Linked DNA regions of Homo sapiens: regions 2, 3 and 4 are each linked to region 1. Evidence: promoter capture Hi-C in human tissues and cell types (Jung and others, 2019). All regions are on one chromosome and are shown on one strand. The core of a region is centred on a gene start or on the middle of the fragment in contact, and the rest is flanking DNA. Distances in the headings are between cores, read along the strand shown.

Region 1 (3,623 bases), core at 1,012-3,511:
GCTGAAGGCAGGTCCCCTAGTGTCTCCCTGAGCCTGCATGGGAGCTGCTGGTTCTTAGAAAGCCTGTGCATTTTCCAAGGTCCCAGACACCAGCACTCCCTGGGGGGCCACCGTGATGTGGGAGTTACCGAGGGCTGGAGCTGCTCCTCTTTCTCTTGCCATCTCCATCCTCCAAGTGCTGCACGCTGGCATCCAGGTTAAGCTGCCTCTCATACGGGGACAGGACAGAGCTGTGGGGTGAGAACAGCGGGTGGGCCACTGACCCACCTCCTCAGCCTGGGGATCTGGTGGGATGTGTAAGGAAACGGGCCAAGAGGACAGTCAGTGGGCCAGGATCGGAGCCACACCCAAGTGCTAAGGCCCTAAGCAGACCCCCATGAGGGGTACAGGCCCAGCCAGGGGGCCCAGCCATGTGCCTCTGCCTAGGCAATGGCCCAGAGGAGCTAGCAAACTTGGTAAATATAGAAAAATAAAAACCTTGGATAACTATTGTTAACATCTTTCTTTCGTTTATGTACACACTAATCTCTCTCCATATATTTTTTTCTAACAAAAATGTCATTGTACTAGCATACTGCTTTGTGATCTTTTTTTTCACTCAATAATATATTGTGGACACAGCCCCGTCACTGCAGCATTCTTCCCTGCTGTGAATTTTTTCCTTTTTCTTTTTTTTTTTTTTTTGAGACACAGTCTCGTTCTCTCACCGGGCTGGAGTGCAGTGGCACAATCTTGGCTCACTGCAACCTCCATCTCCTGGGTTCAAGCGATTCTCCTGCCTCAGCATCCCGAGTAGTACCGGGACTACAGGCGCGTGCCACCATGCCCAGCTAATTTTTGTATTCTTAGTAGAGACAAGGTTTCACCATGCTGGCCGGGATGGTCTCCATCTCCTGACCTCATGATCCACCTGCCTCGGCCTCCTAAAGTGCTGGGATTACAGGTGTGAGCCACTGTGCCTGGCCTCCTGGCTGTGAATTAAGGCTTTAAGGCAATGCTGTTCAAAAAAGAGCCACTAGCGACAGGTGGCTATTTAAGTTTGCTTTTTTTTTTGAGATAGAGTTTCGCTTTTTCGCCCAGGCTGGAGTGCACTGGCAAGATCTCGGCTCACTGCAACCTCAGCTGCCCAGGTTCAAGCAATTCTCGTGCCTCAGCCTCCTGAATAGCTGGGACTATAGGCGCCTGCCACCACACCTGGCTGATTTTTTTTTTTTTTTTTTTTTGGTATTTTAGTAGAGACAGGGTTTCACCACGCTGTCCAGGCTGGTCTCGTACTCCTGAGCTCACGCGATCCGCCCGCGTCGGCCTCCCAAAATGCTGGGATTATAGGCGTGAGCCACCACACCAGCCTATTTAAGTTAGATTTAAATACATTTAAATTAAATGAAATTAAACATTCAGTCCCACAGTTGCTCTAGCCCCATGTATTAGACATCACAGACACAGAACATTTTCATCATTACAGAAAGTTCTATTGGACAGAGCTGCTCTAAGGGATAACCTCTCATTTGTGTGAGCCTGCCTCTTGTTCAACTCTTGTTTGCAAGTACACTGATTTTGCACAGTGAGTGTGTTCTGTGTGACTCCTCACTAAATGCAAGCTCTGTGAGGGCAGTGATTTTGCTCTTCTGTTCTCAGCGATGTGTACAGGGCCTGACCCCCAGCAAATAATAAATATCGTTGATCATTCTCACAGGTGAACCACTGTACACGTCCACGATTATTTCCTTAGGATAGGTTCCACTTTCAGAAAAGAAAAGATGTAGAGCTGGGCGTGGTGACTCATGCCTGTAATCCCAGCACTTTGGGAGGCTGAGGCGGGAGGATCATTTGAGGTCAGGAGTTCGAGACCAGCCTGGGCAACACAGTGAAACCCCATCTGTACTAAAAATAAAATAAAATAAAAAAATTAGCCAGGCATGGTGGCACACGCCTGTAATCCCAGCTACTTGGGAGGCTGAGGCAGGAGAACTGCTTGAACCCAGGAGGCAGAGGCTACAGTAAGCTGAGATCATGCCACTGCACTACAGCCTGGGCGACAGAGTGAGACTCCGTCTCAAAAAGAAAAGAAAAGATGTGCCTGCTTTAGAGCTTTTGTGACATACTGTAACTGCAAAAGCTGTACCCGTTTCCACTCCAAGTCTGAAGGTCTCTGCCTTTTACCAATGCTGGATTACTAAGGTGATGAAGGAAAAAACATTTAACCTGGCATGAAAAATGTGAAACCCTACTAATGGTAAATTCTTCACCCAGTCCTTCATTTAAGCATACACTCTACATACCTGCCTGCGCACCTACTAAGTGCCAGGCACTGTTCCAATCCTGCCTCTCAGTGCTCACACACACTCAGCTGCAGGCGCAGGTCATCTGAAGATGCGGCTCGAGTTCATAAACCAGAATAAAACAAAATGACCTGGATTCCTCCCAACCTGCCTCTCTCAGAACGCTTCCAGCAGGCGCCCCCAGTCTGTGCCCAAGGAACTGCACTCCAGCCAAGGGTTCCAGGTAAGGAGAGGCCATTTTCTACCTTAGACTAGTCAGCCAGGTCCCAGGACTAGAATATATGGAAGGGGAACAGGAAGGGGATTTACCTTGGTTGGAATCGTCGAACCACATAACCCAACCTCTTCAGGTGGCTGAAGACCTCAAAAGAAAAAAAAAAAATGAAAGCTCAGATGGCCACTCTGGAAAACACCAAATGGTTTCTCCAGACACAGGCCATCCCCACAGCCCTCTCTGCCCCTCCTGTACACCCCCAGATTCTAAACCCTGTGATTAAGGTTGGACCATGCTTCATTACGAACACCATCCCTAAAGATCTCAGGCTCTGAATTCCTGTCCTCCCACTTACCTTACTCGGCACAAATGACATTTAGCCAAATCCAAAAAAACTGATAGCCATGAAACCAGAAAACCACCACGCCCTGAAATACTTGAGTATTTTGATACAAAGCTCATAGGAGTGAAGCTGCCGATCACCATGTGAACAAAATGATGGCAGGTGGTGGGCATCTCTCCAGCCCCACACCTCCACAGATGCCGGTGGGAAGTTTCTGGTAGGGAGCCACATATTCAACCTTGTGTCCCTGCATTCATATCAGAGGAACATAGATAAGAATGTCCCCCATCCTGCTTGATCTCAGCAGGCTTTAGCACAGCTAACCACTTCCTCCTTGAAAGACCTTCTTTTGGCTTCTGTGATGCGACTTTGGTTTTTCTCCTGCATCACCAGACACTCCTCGGTCTGTTTCTGCTTCTTATCTGCCCCCTAACCTACACAGAGAGCCCCAGGGCTCAGACCCAGCCCTCTACTCTGATGGCACTCCCATACAGCCCAGTAGTTTAAATACCATCCATGTGCTCATGGCACCCATATTTACATCTAGCCTTGACCTCTCCTCACACTCCAGACTTGGATTCCAATTGTCTGTCTGCTTTACACTCACTTGGATGTCCAAGAAGCTCCTCAAAATTAACTTATCTGACACAGTTCTTTCGACTGGTCTTGTCCTCCCAAATCTGCTCCTCTTCATTCTTCCCACTCAGAAAATGACAGCACCTTCATCCACTGGTGCATGCCCAAATCATGGGCGGTAATCCTGGGTTCTTCTCTCTCCTTAATC
Region 2 (5,077 bases), core at 2,313-4,812, 310 kb after region 1:
CAGCTGAATCCATGCTGTGGACACAAAAGTGACGGCCAAGCATCTGCAAGGTTCACAATAAGGGAGCTACTGATAGGAATTTGGTCACTTTGGACAAAGAAAAAGGGATAAAAAGCTTGACATTTTAAATATGAAGAAAATTTTTCATGAAAACTATTAATTTTTTTCCGGGATTCAACATCTTCAAGATCTCAAAAATCAATGAAAATCTAAAATAGCTAACATTTCAAAAATAAAAATGCCAAAATGCAACAGGATCGCTTGAGGCCAGGAGTGCGAGACCAGCCTAGGCAACAAAATGAGACTCCCATCTCTACAAAGAAAAAAAAATTAGCTGGGCGTGGTGGCATGGTGACCTGTAGTCTCAGCTACTAGGAAGACTGAGGCAGAGGATCACTTGAGCCCAAGAGGTAGAGGCTGCAGTGAGCCATGATCACACTGTACTCCAGCCCAGGTGACACAACAAAACCCTGTTGTATCTTGAAAACAAAATAGAGAAAATTAAAATAGTACAAAATAAATTCAACTGTTTCAGTCCACAACTAGTAAAATCTGAGGTAATAAACAGAAAAACAACCAAATGTGCCAAGATGGATAATTTGGAAGAAAAAAAACCCTACCTTTTTTGTTGAAGGAGGTTTCACATACCAGCATCTCCCCTGGACCCCAGTCAAAATACATTTGGTTCTTCTTGGAATTCACGCCTGGAATCAACTAGTAAAATAAGGCATAGAAATCTAAAATGAAAAATGTTCTTCTTACTGAAGTTGTTCCATTCTTTTTTTTTTTTTTTTTTTTTTGAGACAAAGACTCACTCTAACAGGCTGGTGTACAGTGGTGTAATCTCAGCTTGCTCCAATCGCCGCCTCCTGGGTTCAAAGGCTTCTCCTGCCTCAACCTCCTGAGTAGCTGGGACTACAGGTGTGTGCAACCACACCCGGCTATTTTTTTTTTTTTTTTCATTTTTAGTAGAGATAGAGTTTCACCATATTGCCCAGGCTGGTCACAAACTCCTGAGTTCAGGTGATCCGTCCGCCTCAGCCTCCCAAAGTGCTAGGACTACAGGCGCGAGCCACCGTGCCCGCCCTGCTGAAAAACACTTTAAGTGAAGAGCACAGCTGGTCCTCTAATAACACTGTATCCTTCAATAACATTTCCTTATAACACTGGTAAGAAAAATTCATTTTGGGCCGGCAGCGGGGTGGCTCCTGCCAGCACTTTGGGAGGCTAAGGCGGGCAGATCATCTGAGGTCAGGAGTTCGAACTCTTGTTGCCCAGGCTGGACTGCAGTGACGCAATCTCGACTCACTGCAACCTCTGCCTGCTGGGTTCAAGTGATTCTCCTGCCTCAGCTTCTTGAGTAGGTGGGATTACAGGCACGCGCCACCAAACCAGGCTAATTTTTGTATTTTTTTAGTAGAGATGGGGTTTCACCATGTTGGCCAGGTTGATCTCGAACTCCTAGCCAAGCGCGGTGGCTCATGCCTGTAATCCCAGCACTTTGGGAGGCCGAGGCAGGCTGATCACGAGGTCAGGCTTTGGAGACCAGCCTGACCAAGATGGTGAAACCCCATCTCTACCAAAAATACAAAAATTAGCTGGGTGTGGTGGCACGCACCTGTAATCTCAGCTACTCAGGAGACTGAGGCAGAAGAATCGCTTGAACCCAGGAGCCAGAGGTTGCAGTGAGCTGAGATCACGCCACTGCACTCCACTCTGGGTGACAGAGTGAGAATCCGTCTCAAAAAAAGAATGAGGCCAGGCGCAGTGGCTCACACTTGTAATCCCAGCACTTTGGGAGACTGAGGCCGGCAGATCACCTGAGGTCAGGAGTTCCAGACCAGCCTGACCAACATGGAGAAACCTCGTCTCTACTAAAAAAATACAAAATTAGCCGGGCATGGTGGCACATGCCTGCAATCCCAGCTACTCAGGAGGCTGAGGCAGGAGAATTGCTTGAACCTGGGAGGCGGAGGTTGCAGAGAGCCGAGACCGCACCACTGCACTCTAGCCTGGGCGACAAGAGGGAAACTCCGCCTCAAGAGAAAAAAAAAAGAAGGCCACATATCTCCCCAGAGAGCTTCCCTCACAAATTGCTCACAAGGAAATTCCTTGTGAGCCTCTAAAATTTTCAGGATACACATCGCCCCTATAAACTAGTCCTAAAATCAAGATCTGTTGATTCTGACAATGTCAACTACCAGCTTATCTTCACAAGTAAAAGACCAGAAATCGGCCGGGTGCGGTGGCTCACGCCTGTAATCCCAGCACTTTGGGAGGCCGAGGTGGGCGGATCACGAGGTCAGGAGATTGAGACCATCCTGGCCAACACGGTGAAACCCCGTCTCTACTAAAAATACAAAAAAGTACAAAAAATTAGCCGGGCGTGGTGGCGGGCACCTGTAGTCCCAGCTACTCAGGAGGCTGAGGCAGGAGAATGGTGTGAACCCGGGAGGCGGAGGTTACAGTGAGCCGAGACCGCGCCACTGCACTCCAGCCTGGGAGACAGAGCGAGACTCCGTCTAAAAAATAACAGTAATAATAACCATAATCCCTCTACCTACCCTGAGATGAATGCATACATAAAATTTTCCTCTGCTCCCTCTTTTCACAGGTAAAATGCAGATTTACTGAGGCTAATCACCGACTCACAAGAATGTAATCATTTGCCTCCTCACTGCCTAACCTCCCTTTTTTGCCCCTCCTGCTAGCTCCTTCCTCTTTAACTAGTGATGTTCCCAAAACCATCTTTGGAAAAAGCACAGGTCTCAGATCCTCCTGTGACCTGTGCTTTTTCCCGGTTGGATCCTCAACCTTAGCTAATTAAACCTTTATCGGTTGAGACCTGCCTCAGTCACTTCTGGTTAACAAGAGGGAAAACAAGAGCAATCCAACTAGCAGAAACGGTAGGTATCTCGTACATAAAGCGCGTGAATTTTTTTTATACACATCACAGATCATCCACAGTTGACATACTGTCTTCAAAGTTCAAATGGAATTGAATGCACAGCGATAAAACAGGAATAGTCTCCTGAGATAATACGTTGAATAAACCTTAGGCCACACAGGCAGAAGCTCAATGTGCCGCGATGCAGAGCTTAATACGGCTGGAATAAAAATATAAATTCCTCTGCTTGGGCTGAACCCACTCTAATGCCCAAGAGGAAAAGCAAGGGAAGTAAAAAGGCCAGGAACACAAAGGAAGGAAAGGGACGGAGTGGGACCTTCGAGGCCGGGGTTTGTGACTGGTGGCAGAAACCCCGCGACCACTGCGACCCTAGGGCGGGCACCTCGTTAACACTGCGACCTCCGGAAAAGTGGCAACTGAGTCGAGGGAAGGGGACGAGCGCCTCGCGACCACTAGGGAAGCAGACAAGCCTGAAGTAACTAAGCAGACGCAGTTCTCAACCCGCAAGGACGAGCAAGCCTGTTCGGGGTACCCTTACAGTGACTGTTGGCTCGCCATCGAGCTCCTCCATAGCGCCGAACCCCAGGCTCCTAGAAGTCGCTCGGACGCCAATGCTTCCCGCTCAGGCCTCCCGCTCAGAGCTGGCTGCGAGACAAGACTCCGCCTGGGCGTCTCCTGCAGCGCCTGCAAGCCCAAACCCTCAGTGCTGCGGCGCTGTCTCCTCTCAGCCACGGCCACCCCTCTGCGGTCCTCTGCACGCGTCCTTCCTTCCTGGCGTCGACAGCAAATCAGGGAAAACAGCGCCGAGGACTGACTGCACTCAGAGTACCGCGCTAACAGGATCAGGCGGCGCCGGGGACACCCTGGTGCCGAGCGGAGAAAAGGCCCCCGGAGACGGCGGGAGGGGCAGGAGGACCCCGGGGCTGGAGACGGTGCGAATGCGCGTGCGTAGGCTGGGGCGGCGGCACTTGGGTGGGAACTCGTGCGGGATTTAGGTCCCAGTAAGCGTACAACGTCTCCCAACTCTGGGAGTCCTCGCTACATCCCGGTCTCCACCTTAGTGTCGTCGCAGCCACTTGTCCAAACCCCGACAGTCAAACGGGCTTGTGCTGGAAAGCAATCGCCTCCACTTCCACACTAGAACACACACAAGAGGCACGGGAACAAAATCGATACCCCTGAAGGCCCGGCGCTGTGGCTCAAGCCTCTAATCCCAACACTTTGGCAGCCCAAGGTGGGTGGATCACTGGAGTTCAGGAGTTCAAGACCAGTCTGGCCAATATGATGAAACCTCGTCTCTACTAAAAATATAAAAAATTAGACGGGCGTGGTGGCGGACACCTGTAATTCCAGCTACTCGGAAGGCTGAGGCAAGAGAATTGTTCCAACCCGGGAGGTGGAGGTTGCATTGAGCCAAGATCGCACCACTGCACTCCAGCCTGGGAGACAGAGCGAGACTCCGTCTCAAAAAAAAAAAAAAAAATTAGCTGTGCTTGGTAGCGCGCGCCTGTAATCCCAGCACTCCGGGACGCCGAGGTGGTTGGATCACCTGAGGTCAGGAGTTCAAGACCAGCCTGGACAACATGGCGAAACCCCGTCTCTACTGAAAATACAAAAATTAGCCGGGAGTGGTGGCGGACACCTGTAATCCCAGCTACTCGTAAGGCTGAGGCAGGAGAATTGTTCCAACCCGGGAGGCGGAGGTTGCAGTGAGCCAAGATCGCGCCACTGCACTCCATCCTGGGCGACAGACGGAGACTCCGTCTCAAAAAAAAAAAAATTATTTTGCTGAGTCTCAAAAAAAAATTATTTTGCTCTTTTTCTCTTAATAAGTTTCCGTTATACCTCAAGTTGGAGTTATCGCCTGTGTAATTGAAAACTTTTCCAGAGTTAAATACAGTTTGAGAGTTAACCACTCTAGAGAGAGGAAGGGGAAAAGAGAGGGGAAGGAGCCACACTCTTTTAGAGAGAGGGGAGGAGAGGAAAGAGAAAAATAAGTTGTAAGATAATTGTTTCATTTTTCCAACCGTTTTCCATTAGGATTAACTGAAAAAGAAGGATACATAAACTACTTCATCAAAACCTTATTCTTAGAAATCTATAGAAAGGTTGAGGAAGGAAAAGGTCCATATATAGTATGCGTAATCAGTATATAGAACAAGGATAGGC
Region 3 (5,197 bases), core at 798-3,297, 340 kb after region 1:
TGATCCTCCCACCTCGGCCTCCCAAAGTGCTGGGATTACAGGCATGAGCCACCATGCCCGGCCTCTTTTGAGAGTGTTGATCTGAACTAGATGGTCTTCCTGCTTTGGCCTATCACACATCTAAGGTCTTAAGCCTCTTCCTCCCCAAAGAGAACCTACAGAAGGCCAGCAAATGCAGCTCCATCCAGAGGCCAAAGAAATTAGATTTGGTAAGAAGGTGGAATAGACAAGATTTGGCCAAGATTGATTGGATGAGGAGTGTGTGAAGGAGAAGAAGTCAGGAATGTTGCTGGCCTTTCCAGCTTGGGGCAGCTGTTGTAGTGGTGTGTCACTCAGTTTAAGAGTGACAGGTCAGGAAGAAGGACCCATGTGGAAGGTAAAGTGAGGAGTTTTAGTTGAGAGTTGCTGGGTCTGAGGTGCCTCTGGGATATCCAAGTGGAGATGTTCAGAAATCAACTGGAAACTCAGAAGAAAGACGTGGACTAGAAATAATGGATTTGAGGATCATTAGCAAAGAGATGGTAATGAAAATCGGTGAAATCATCCTCGGAGAGGGAATGGAGTGATAAAAGGATCTTGAAGAAAACCCTAAGGAACAGTTAAGGGAAGGAGTGAGTAAGAAAAAAAATTGCAGAGAGAACAAAGGACAGGCTAGAGATGAGAGGAAAACCTACCTCCTGCAAAGTTCAAGAGGAGTGACAAACTGAGAAGCATACTGGATTCAGCAAAGAAGTCTGCGGTGACCTTGTGGAGAGCAGTTTTAGTGGAACTTTGGGGACAGCACCAGATTGCAGTGGGTTGAGGAGTGAGTGGGAGGGGAGGGGTTGGAGACAGCTGGCGGGGACATTTTTTCGAGCTGTTTGGCCAAGAATGGAGAGAGATAGGATGGTAACTTCATAGAATTGGGAGCTTTTTTTTTTTTTTCTATACTAACGGAGGAGAGGAAGAAAATTCAGGGACAAAAGGAAATAATAAAGCCCCGGGGGAAGAAGCGAGATGGAATCCAGTGCACACACATCGGATTGTTCTTCAGACAGGAGGGACGCATGTGTATGTTTTAACTGGATGCAACGAGGAAAGGATTAAATTGGCTGGAAGCTTGATTGTTGGGTAGTTCTCGCTTATGGATACTGTTTCCTCTTGGAAGACAGGCGATGAGTAAGGATCTCGTTGAATGAATACATGAATATTTTCCCGTAGCTAGTCAAAGTCTAGGGTTACCAGCAGGACAGAAGAAGACACTGTAGGCCGGGCGCGGTGGCTCACGCCTGTAATCCCAGCACTTTGGGAGGCCGAGGCGGGCGGATCACGAGGTCAGGAGATCGAGACCATCCTGGCTAACACGGTGAAACCCCGTCTCTACGAAAAATTAGCCGGGCGTTGTGGCGGGTACCTGTAGTCTCAGCTACTCGGGAGGCTGAGGCAGGAGAATCACTTGAACCCGGGAGGCAGAGGTTGCTGTGAGCCGAGATCGTGCCACTGCACTCCAGCCTGGGCGACTGAGCGAGACTCCGTCTCAAAAAAAAGAAGAAGAAGAAGAAGAAGAAGACACTGCATTTTAGGCAAGAGTCCGGTGGGAAGCAGGTTGAGATTGACTGAGAGGAAGTAACCATGGGAGGGCTGCTGGTCCACTGAATGAGAGAGATTTTTCCAGAACCTCATGCTGGGGCTTTGATTTAGGAATCCCCTTCCTCCTCTAGTAAGTCTGCCTTCCCTGGCCTATGGCTTACGTCTAAAGCCTCGAGCCTCATCGTTCCCACCGAGGACCAGCTGGAAGCCATTTTGATTATGCTCCACCACGAAGGAGGACAATACAGCCCCGCCCAGAGCCAGGCGCGCCCCCGCGGCGGGCCGGGTGCGCGTGTCCGCGCCTCTTCCCGCCGGCCGGGCGGGCGCCTGGCCCAGGACGCGGTGGCGTGGGACGGGGGGTGGGGGTGGTTATGTAAGCGTTGCGCGCTCCCGCGAGGCGCCAGCCAATGGGAGGCTTCGGCTACTCGTGCTCGCGCACGCAGGGTGGGGGGAGGGAGCGCACGACGTGCGCGCACCCTCTCCCCTCGTCCACCGCTGCCGCCTCCTTCTTCTGCCGCTCCTGGTGCTGCTTGTGTGCTCGTTTGGTGCGGACCTGGTACCTCTTTTGTGAAGCGGCAGCTGAGGAGACTCCGGCGCTCGCCATGGCCGACGAAAAGCCCAAGGTGAGCTCGCCGCCGGCCCCTTCGCCTCGCCGCGCGGTGGGGGTCATGGCGCGGGCCGGGGTCCGGCCAGAGCCCGCCGCTGGCTCCCAGCGCTTTCCCGGGCCCCCCACGGGGCCGGCCGCGGCTCAGGCCCGGGCGCTCCGCGCCATTTTCCTCCCTCCCTCTCTTCCTCCCTCCCGCGCCGAAGGAGGCCCCGCCGCTCTCTCCCGCCCCCGGCGGCCTCCGAGTGCGCGCCGGGCGCGAGTTGGGCGGGCAGAAAGCGGACGCCCGCGGACCCACCAGCCCCGAACGGGGATTCTTGGCCCAGCCGGCCGGCGCGCGTGAGGAGGGGCGTTAGGGCGCGCGGGGTCTCCACCTTCTGTCGACCCCGCGTCGGGTGTTGCAGTCTCCGAGGCGGCGAGGAGTCCTCTGGGCTCGGGCTTCACCTCTCGGGTAGGAACCGCGGGCATCTGGGGACCCCTGCCTGGGGCCGCGGCGGCGGGGCGAGGGTTCGGGGCGAATCAATGGGCTGCGGACGGGCAGGAACCTGGATGCCCGCGGGCCGCCGTCCTGGGCCTGGGGGTAGGGGGATTCCCGTGGAGTATTTCCCACTTTAATAGCCTCAGGGGCCCGAAGGGGGAGGGGCAGCGGCTTTTCCCTGGGTGCCAACGAACCCCTAATCCGCGAACACCATGTGGTTTCATGAAGTTGGAGGCACAGGTACGAGCAGAGAGACTTTGTGCGGCTTAACTTTTGAACGCGGCTTTTGAGGCACCCGGAGACTTCCCGGGAGGACTTGGGGACACCCATCATCGGGGCACACGGGACTTGCTGCTTTTAGTTTGGTGGCACCCCCCGCCTCCCGCGCCTTTACTTTCTGGAGCGTTTTAGGGCTACAGAATTGCTTCTGCACTCGATTTTGGACAACTTTAGGTTGGGTCGAAATCTACAAGAAACAAATCAGGATAAAACTGTGTATTTGACCCATGACAACAAAGGGGGGGAGGGGAGAATAAGTGCTCTTAACCGAAAATAAAAATGAAGCTGCTAATAGAGGAGAACGTTAACTGTGGTCCTGACTGAGTATTACCGCTGTTCCGGGGGGAATCGGGATATTCTTCGATTGTTTTTTTTGTTTGTGTGTTTCCTTTAATGGAGATTGGATTTAGGTTATTAAACTGAGTTTGGTAACTTTTTAATGACAACGGTAATGAGTTTTGAATGGCAGGCTGTAGATTTATTGTTTTGTTTCTTGCAGTTGTACTTAAAGTGCTTAGAAAAGAGAAGGGACTCTATTTTTAACTTTTTTGGGGGGTAAAGTATTTTGGGAGTGATATATGTCATTTTAGGAAGTTTAACTTCAAGAGAACGTTGCAATACACTGAATAGGACCCAACTTTAAACATATTGTTGCTACTGATAGTATTGCATGTAGGCTTTTCCGTATCTGACAGCTATCTAATACTGTTACTGCAGGATTTTTCCGCTTTCACATTGATTTCAGCAGCTGAAAACAGCAGTATGCCGTTTTAGCATACAGTATGAGAAACCTGTTGATTTTTGAAGCAACTAGGGCTGCTGCTGCTTTATAAAACGTGTTCGTTGATCACATTTCCCAAATTATACTTTTATTTTTCTTTTAACAGGAAGGAGTCAAGACTGAGAACAACGATCATATTAATTTGAAGGTGGCGGGGCAGGATGGTTCTGTGGTGCAGTTTAAGATTAAGAGGCATACACCACTTAGTAAACTAATGAAAGCCTATTGTGAACGACAGGTGAGGAATTCATATGTGTACTTCCACTGAATAAAACTATTTTTAAAAATCTTATTTTCATGGGAACAAAAACTAGACTAGCACATTACAGTGACTTTTTGATGGGATGAATATGCACTTGGCACGTCAGTTTTGTCGTGCACTTGGTATATTGATAGCTCGTGAAAACCCTTAGGATGATTTGGTTAGTATTATATGTGGTTCCAGTCCTGTGCCAGAAATCCATCAAATTATATTTACAATAATTTTTTTTTACCAAGGAAATGTAATTTTATGTTTATAAGAAAATAAGAGTGAACTTGGTAAAATTACTTATAAGTCTTTTATTATTTTATTTTATTTTTTTGAGATGGAGTTTCATTCTTGTTGCCCAAGCTGAAGTACAGTGGCCTGAGCTCAGCTCACTGCAACCTCCACTTCAAGCGATTTTCCTGCCTCAGTCTCCTGAGTATCTGGGATTACAGGTGCCCACTACCAGGCCTGGCCAATTTTTTTTTTGTATTTTTAGTAGAGATGGGGTTTCACCGTATTGGCTAGGCTGGTTCCAAACTCCTGACCTCAGGTGATCCGCCCGCCTCGGCCTTCCAAAGTGCTGGGATTACAAGCATGAGCCACCGCGCCAAACCAAGAAGTCGTTTTTTTTTTTTTTTTTTTTTTTTTTTTTAAGCTGGGAGTCTCACTCTATTTCTTTTAAGCTAGAACTTATCTACCTTGTAAATTGTGTTTTATTTTTGTTTTTGTTTTTGATGGAGTCTTGCTCTGTTGCCCAGGCTGGAGTGCAGTGGTGCAATCTTGGCTCACTGCAACCTCTGCCTCCTGAGTTGAGGCTATTCTTATGCCTCAGCCTCCTGAGTACCTGGGATTTCAGGCGTGCGCCACCACGCCCGGCTAATTTTGTATTTTTAGTAGACCTGACCTCAACTCCTGACCTCAAGTGATCCGCCCACCTTGGCCTCTCAGAGTGCTGGGATTACAAGCATGGGCCACTGTGCCTGGCCCCTTCAGATTGTTCTAAATAGGCTCAAAATAGAATAAGGCTTAAACCTATGTAAGTTGGGAAATTGAGTTTGAGTTTATACTTGAAAGATCAGTGAAGATAAAAACTTCCTTTAGGCCTGATGCAGTGGCTCATATCTGTAATCCCAGCACTTTGGGAGACTGAGGCAGGTGGCAGTTGACATCAGCCTGGCCACCATGGCAAAATCCCATTTCTACTAAAAATCCAAAAAAATTAGCTGGGCGTGGTGT
Region 4 (5,642 bases), core at 2,127-4,626, 390 kb after region 1:
GTAATTAGCTACTTGGGAAGCCAAGGCAAGAGGATGCTTGAGCCCAGGAGTTTGAGACTATCCTGGGCAACATAGCGAGACCTCCTTAAAAAACAAAATCTTAAAACAGATGAAGACCCAGAGAGGAGTGGGTTTCTTTCTGAAGAAGGCTCTAAAGATGAGCAGGTTAGACTCTTCTACCTCCCCTTTGTTCTGGGCAGTAACATTTTAAAGTGTTCTCCAAGACTGGGCAACATGGTGAAACCTCGTCTCTACCAAAAATAGCCAGGTGTGATGGCACACGCCTGTAGTCGGGAGGCTGAGGCAGGAGGATTGCTTCACCCTGTGAGATCAAGGCTGCAGTGAGCCATGATCGCACCACTGTACTCCAGCCTGGGTGACAGCAAGACCCTGTCTCAAAAAAAGTTCTCCAACTTTAAATATGCGGGGATTTCTCCCCACCAGCAAGCAAGCAAGCAAGCAATTCTGCAGTGGATACCAGCTAGGTGTCCTCCAATTTTTTTTTTTTTTTAAGACAGTGTCTCAGTCTGTCGCCCAGGCTGAAGTGCAGTGGCACAATCTGCTCACTGCAACCTCTGCCTTCTGGGTTCCAGCGATTCTCCTGCCTCACCCTCCCGAGTAGCTGGGACTACAGGCATGTGCCACCACACCCAGCTAATTTTTGTATTTTTAGTAGAGACAGGGTTTATGCCATGTTGCCCAGGCTGGTGTCGAACTCCTGACCTCAAGTAATCTGCCCACCTCGACTTCCCAAAGTGCTGGGATTATAGGCATGAGCCACCTCACCTGGCCCTCCAATTCAATTCTGACAATCAGTTACCTGGAGATAGCTTTGATTCCACAAGTTGAGGGCTCAGCCCCCAAGACTGCTTCCCCTTGAGATAACTCGCAAGTCTGGGCCTCCAAAATGTCTGCGTATCTATGAGTCATATGCATGTTGACTTGAGCCCCTCTTAGACTGGTTTGTCAGGCTTTTTTTTTTTCTGAGATGGAGTCTGGCTCTGTCACCCAGGCTGGACTGCAGTGGCATGATCTTGGCTCACTGCAACGTCTGTCTCCCGGGTTCAAGCAATTCTCCTGCCTTGGCCTCCTGAGTAGCTGGGATTTGTAGGCATGTCCCACCATGCCCGGCTAGTTTTTGTATTTTTAGTAGAGATGGGGTTTCACCATGTTGGTCAGGCTGGTCTCGAACTCCTGACTTTGTGATCCACCTGCCTCGGCCTCCCAAAATGCTGGGATTACAGGCGTGAGCCACTGCACCCGGCCCTGTCAGGTTTTTTTGTGTGTGTGATGCTTCTATTACATGTTTTGTTTGTTTGTTTGTTTGAGACGGAGTCTCGCTGTGGCCCAGGCTGGAGTGCAGTGGCGTGGTCTTGGCTCACTGTAATCTCTGCCTCCCGGGTTCATGCCATTCTCCTACCTCAGCCTCCTGAGTAGCTGGGACTACAGTCACCCGCCACCATGCCCAGCTAATTTTTTTTTTTTTTTTGTATTTTTAGTAGAGACAGGGTTTCACCGTGTTAGCCAGGATGGTCCTGATCTCCTGACCTCATGATCCGCCCGCCTCAGCCTCCCAAAGTGCTGGGATTACAGGCGTGAGCTACCGTGCCCAGCCTCTGTTACATATATTTGGAAGCAGTGGGTTCATCAGATGGGGAACAATGGCGAGATGGGCCACTTAAATCTGTGTTTATAATTTTGGCTCTCCCCTCCCCCAACAGGGACTCCCTCTGTCACCCAGGCTGGAGTGCAGTGGCAGGATGAAGGCTGTGTAGCCTCAATTTCCTGGGCTCAAGGGTTCCTCCCACCTAAGGCTCATGAGTAGCTAGGACCACAGGCATGCGCCACCATACCCAGCTTATTGATTTGTTTATTGTAGAGACAGGGTCTCCCTGTGTTGCTCAGGCTGGTCTTGAACTCCTGGGCTCAAGCTGTCTCCCACCTGGGCCTCCCAAAGTGCTGGGATTACCAGCCTGAGCCACGGCGCCTGGCTTTATAGTTTGTAGGCAAATAGATTTGAGTGGAGTCAGGAAGTTTCATGACATCCACAAAAAGAAGAGTCAACAAAATGTATCACAGTTCAGCATGTTCTTTTTTTTTTTTTTTTTTTTTGAGAAGGAGTTTTGTTCTTGCTGCCCAGGCTGGAGGGCAATGGCATGATCTCGGCTCACCGCAACCTCTGCCTCCTGGATTCAAGAGATTCTCCTGCCTCAGCCTCCCGGGTAGCTGGGATTACAAGCATGTGCCACCACGCTAATTTTGTATTTTTAGTAGCGACAGGATTTCTCCATGTTGGTCAGGCTGGTCTTGAACTCCCGACCTCAGATGATCCGCCCGCCACGGCCTCCCAAAGTGCTGGGATTATAGGCGTGAGCCACCGCACCTGGCCCTGTTCAGCATTTTCTAGACGGGAGTAGGTAAGCGATGTCAGTTCCACATAAAGTCCTGAGGACAGTCCTGATTACCTGTGCTTGATCAAAATCATCTTTCCGGGGGAAACCACACTTGAAGCTCCCATGTTTCAAGCCAACTCTAGTGTGAATTAGTCTCTTAACGAGCTAGACTTACACAAACCAGTTAACAGATTCATTTCACTTTGTAGTCCTCGAGGGATTGTTCCTGCTCCACTGCACAGACGAAAGCAATCCACTGAGACCACGGTACTGCGGTAATAAGACTTTGGCCAGGTGCGGTGGCTCAAGCCTATAATCCCAACACTTTGGGAGGCCAAGGCAGGCAGATCACTTGAGGTCAGGAGTTTGAAACCAGCCTGACCAACATGGCGAAACCCCGTCTCTACTAAAACTACAAAAATTAGCCAGGCGTGGTGGCGGGTGCCTGTAATCCCAGCTACTCGGGAGGCTGAAGCAAGAGAATCGGTTGAACCCGGGAAGCGGAGGCTGCAGTGAGCCGAGATCGCGCCGCCACTGCGCCGCAGCCTGGGCGACAGAGCCAGACTCCGTCTCAAAATAAAAAAAAAAAAAAAGAAAAAAAGAAAAAAAATGTGGAGCTAGCCCCACGGGTTTAGGACCCTTGACTCCTCGTTAGATGCTTCCCAGTATTTCAGAGCATCCCTTTGTTGGGCCCCCGGAAGGTCGGTCCCCTACTAGTAACGTGGGGTGAACGGGGGTACGTCTGCCGTAAAGTGGGAGGCGGCTGATGGGGACAAAGGCTGGGTCCCGAAGAAGCGCAGGGTCAGAAAAGTGCCCCCCAAAGCCGTCCCTGCACCCGAACCCTAGGATGGCCTCGCGCAACCGCAGGGCCGTCGGCACTGGTTTACGACCTGGGCGGGGCGGCCCGGACACTCTATGCAAATCAGCCCGGCGGACTCCGGAAGCAGCGCTCCCTCCGCTTCCGGCCGAGCCCGCGCCCCCCAGACCCCGAGAGCTCGCAGCTCCGGCCCGGCGGCGATGGCGCGGAGCGTGCGCGTGCTGGTGGACATGGACGGCGTCCTGGCCGACTTCGAGGCCGGCCTCCTGCGGGGCTTCCGCCGCCGCTTCCCTGAGGAGCCGCACGTGCCGCTGGAGCAACGCCGCGGCTTCCTGGCCCGCGAGCAGTACCGCGCCCTGCGGCCCGACCTGGCGGTAGGGGGCGCAGGGTCCCCACCCGGGCAGGGCCCGCTCGCTCCGTTCCGGGGGTCTCCCCCTTCTCTGTGAAGGGCGCAGAGCTCTCACCCTGGAACCCGCGGGCAGCGCACCCTGGGGAGGAGCCTTTGGGCGCGTGCCCCTGACCGACGCCCCCTCCGCCCCTCTGAGCTCGGGCCCGGAGCCCCCAGGAGCCTCCCTGCGGGTCCTCGCGGGAACGGGAAGCCGGGACCCAGAACTCTTGTCTTTCAGGATAAAGTGGCCAGTGTGTACGAAGCCCCGGGCTTTTTCCTGGACCTGGAGCCCATCCCGGGAGCCTTGGACGCTGTGCGGGAGATGAACGACCTACCGGAGTAAGGAGAGAGGGGGGCGGGCGGAGTCCTGGGCGGGCTCCTGGCTCCCGGCGGTAACCGCGTCCTTCTCCGCAGCACGCAGGTCTTCATCTGCACCAGCCCCCTGCTGAAGTACCACCACTGTGTGGGTGAGAAGGTGTGGCTGCCCCGCCCCTACTCCGCACGTGGAGCTGCCTAAATCCTGATTTTAAAAAGAAACCACCAGAAACCCAGAAGGTGGGGGTGGGGGGCTCTCAAGGGCTTAGAGCCAAGTCCCTATCCCTGAATTCCGGCTTCCATCAGGCCCTACTCACAGACTGTGTTTTCTACACAGTACCGCTGGGTGGAGCAGCACCTGGGGCCCCAGTTCGTAGAACGAATTATCCTGACAAGGGACAAGACGGTGGTCTTGGGGGACCTGCTCATTGATGACAAGGACACAGTTCGAGGTTGGACCCGTTATCCTTGGCAGCCTCCAGGCCTCTGGCCTGCCCGGATTAGGGAGAGGGAGTAATAATACCCATGACAGATGGCAGCGCGCTGTCTTTCACTGTCCTAGGCCAGGAGGAGACCCCAAGCTGGGAGCACATCTTGTTCACCTGCTGCCACAATCGGCACCTGGTCCTGCCCCCGACAAGGAGACGGCTGCTCTCCTGGAGTGACAACTGGAGGGAGATCTTAGATAGCAAGCGCGGAGCTGCGCAGCGGGAATGAGCGGGGATGCCGCGGGCAGCAGCTGGAGCTAAAGGAAGGGCAGGCCCACAGGGGCCACCGCAGAGCCGAGTCGGGGCGGCATCGTGCTGGTGCCTCTGGCCCCGTGGAGTGGAGCAGGCAGATACCGTTAAGCGCTGTGCTACCGGGCCCCAGGCCCAGCCACCCGGTACCTCCCGAGAGGCTGTCCCTGGACCCTGGCTGGCATGGAAATACAGTGGGAAAACCAGTCGGGACCTTTAATAAAAGACCTTGGCTTTCTAGTCTTCTAGGACCCTTTATTTGGGAACATAAAGGGACAGGCTCCCTGAGCGGGTGCTGATGAGCCCTTCCCTCCCCTCTGAGTCCAGTGGTCCCCTAATCTGCCCCATTTCCATGCCCACGTGGGTACCATTTTTGTAGCACCTGCCATTCCTGGGCCATCTAAGGGGTCAGCCTTGAGGGGGTACACGAGAGGCAAGGACCCCCATTTTCCCTGAGCTCCACCTTTCCATCGGATCCCACGCTCCTTATGTTGACCAGGGGGCACCATGGACATGGAGCCACATCCTTTACGTTGCCGTCTCTTCCTGACTCCCTTGAGCAACACTCACTGCGTCCCTGATGCCCTCGTGGGATACACTTCTGGGGTAGGGCTCCCCATCATTGAGTGACAGCAGAGGAGGGCCGAAGCTTTCAGCCGGGGCCATGGGGTGGCAAGGGGAGAAGATGCAGTTACCAGGGCTGGTGCCTCTATTCCGACGTATCATCACCTGCATGGCCTTGTGCTTGATGCCCGATGGCCACATTAAGTCCCTGGGCTGTCACTCAAGGGCAGGGACCACATCTTCATCTTGGAGTCATGGTGCCTAACAGCAAGGCTGGGTGGACAGTCAATGCTGGGCCACAGGTTATCCAGGTTGGCATCCACCAGGCCCAAATGCCCAGCTTGGAGAGCCCCTGGGGGAGGCATCCATCCTCCAGAGCCCTGGAGGGGGCACCACATCTTCCCAGGGTGAGATCCTTTCACCACGAG

What was found. Contacts are between HindIII fragments. The study calls those that stand out against the background at their distance.
Region 2: the fragment with the promoter of NUP85 here is called in contact with a fragment that was not itself captured in region 1 in 2 of the 25 tissues and cell types used here (dorsolateral prefrontal cortex and lymphoblastoid cells).
Region 3: a contact is called between the fragment with the promoter of SUMO2 here and a fragment that was not itself captured in region 1, in 4 of the 25 tissues and cell types used here (dorsolateral prefrontal cortex, lymphoblastoid cells, ovary and 1 more).
Region 4: the fragment with the promoter of NT5C here is called in contact with a fragment that was not itself captured in region 1 in 3 of the 25 tissues and cell types used here (H1 embryonic stem cells, lymphoblastoid cells and spleen).

Annotation. Positions count from the first base shown.
Region 1 is chr17:75,518,016-75,521,638 of GRCh38, reverse strand. It overlaps TSEN54 (tRNA splicing endonuclease subunit 54), which reads right to left. Exons shown (of 11, transcript NM_207346.3): 6 at 2,592-2,644; 7 at 129-230. Among named protein-coding and RNA genes, the nearest start is that of TSEN54, 3.3 kb to the right of the region's middle. The HindIII fragment of the contact is 6,204 bases long and covers 1-3,623 here.
Region 2 is chr17:75,204,164-75,209,240 of GRCh38, reverse strand. NUP85 (nucleoporin 85) reads right to left here and starts at 3,562. Exons shown (of 19, transcript NM_024844.5): 1 at 3,447-3,562; 2 at 621-714. The coding sequence starts at 3,479. RefSeq lists enhancers at 896-1,463, 3,551-3,730, 2,889-3,822, 3,823-4,757. The HindIII fragment of the contact is 15,269 bases long and covers 1-5,077 here.
Region 3 is chr17:75,179,809-75,185,005 of GRCh38, reverse strand. It overlaps SUMO2 (small ubiquitin like modifier 2), which reads left to right and starts at 2,047. Exons shown (of 4, transcript NM_006937.4): 1 at 2,047-2,192; 2 at 3,818-3,949. The coding sequence starts at 2,172. RefSeq lists silencers at 1,748-1,977, 2,108-2,507 and an enhancer at 2,089-2,739. The HindIII fragment of the contact is 6,398 bases long and covers 1-5,075 here.
Region 4 is chr17:75,129,476-75,135,117 of GRCh38, reverse strand. It overlaps NT5C (5', 3'-nucleotidase, cytosolic), which reads left to right and starts at 3,376. Exons shown (of 5, transcript NM_014595.3): 1 at 3,376-3,584; 2 at 3,837-3,937; 3 at 4,013-4,073; 4 at 4,251-4,365; 5 at 4,476-4,890. The coding sequence starts at 3,411. The coding sequence ends at 4,630. It overlaps ARMC7 (armadillo repeat containing 7), which reads right to left. Exons shown (of 3, transcript NM_024585.4): 3 at 4,846-5,642. RefSeq lists silencers at 3,214-3,783, 4,153-4,357 and an enhancer at 4,394-4,483. The HindIII fragment of the contact is 10,965 bases long and covers 1-5,642 here.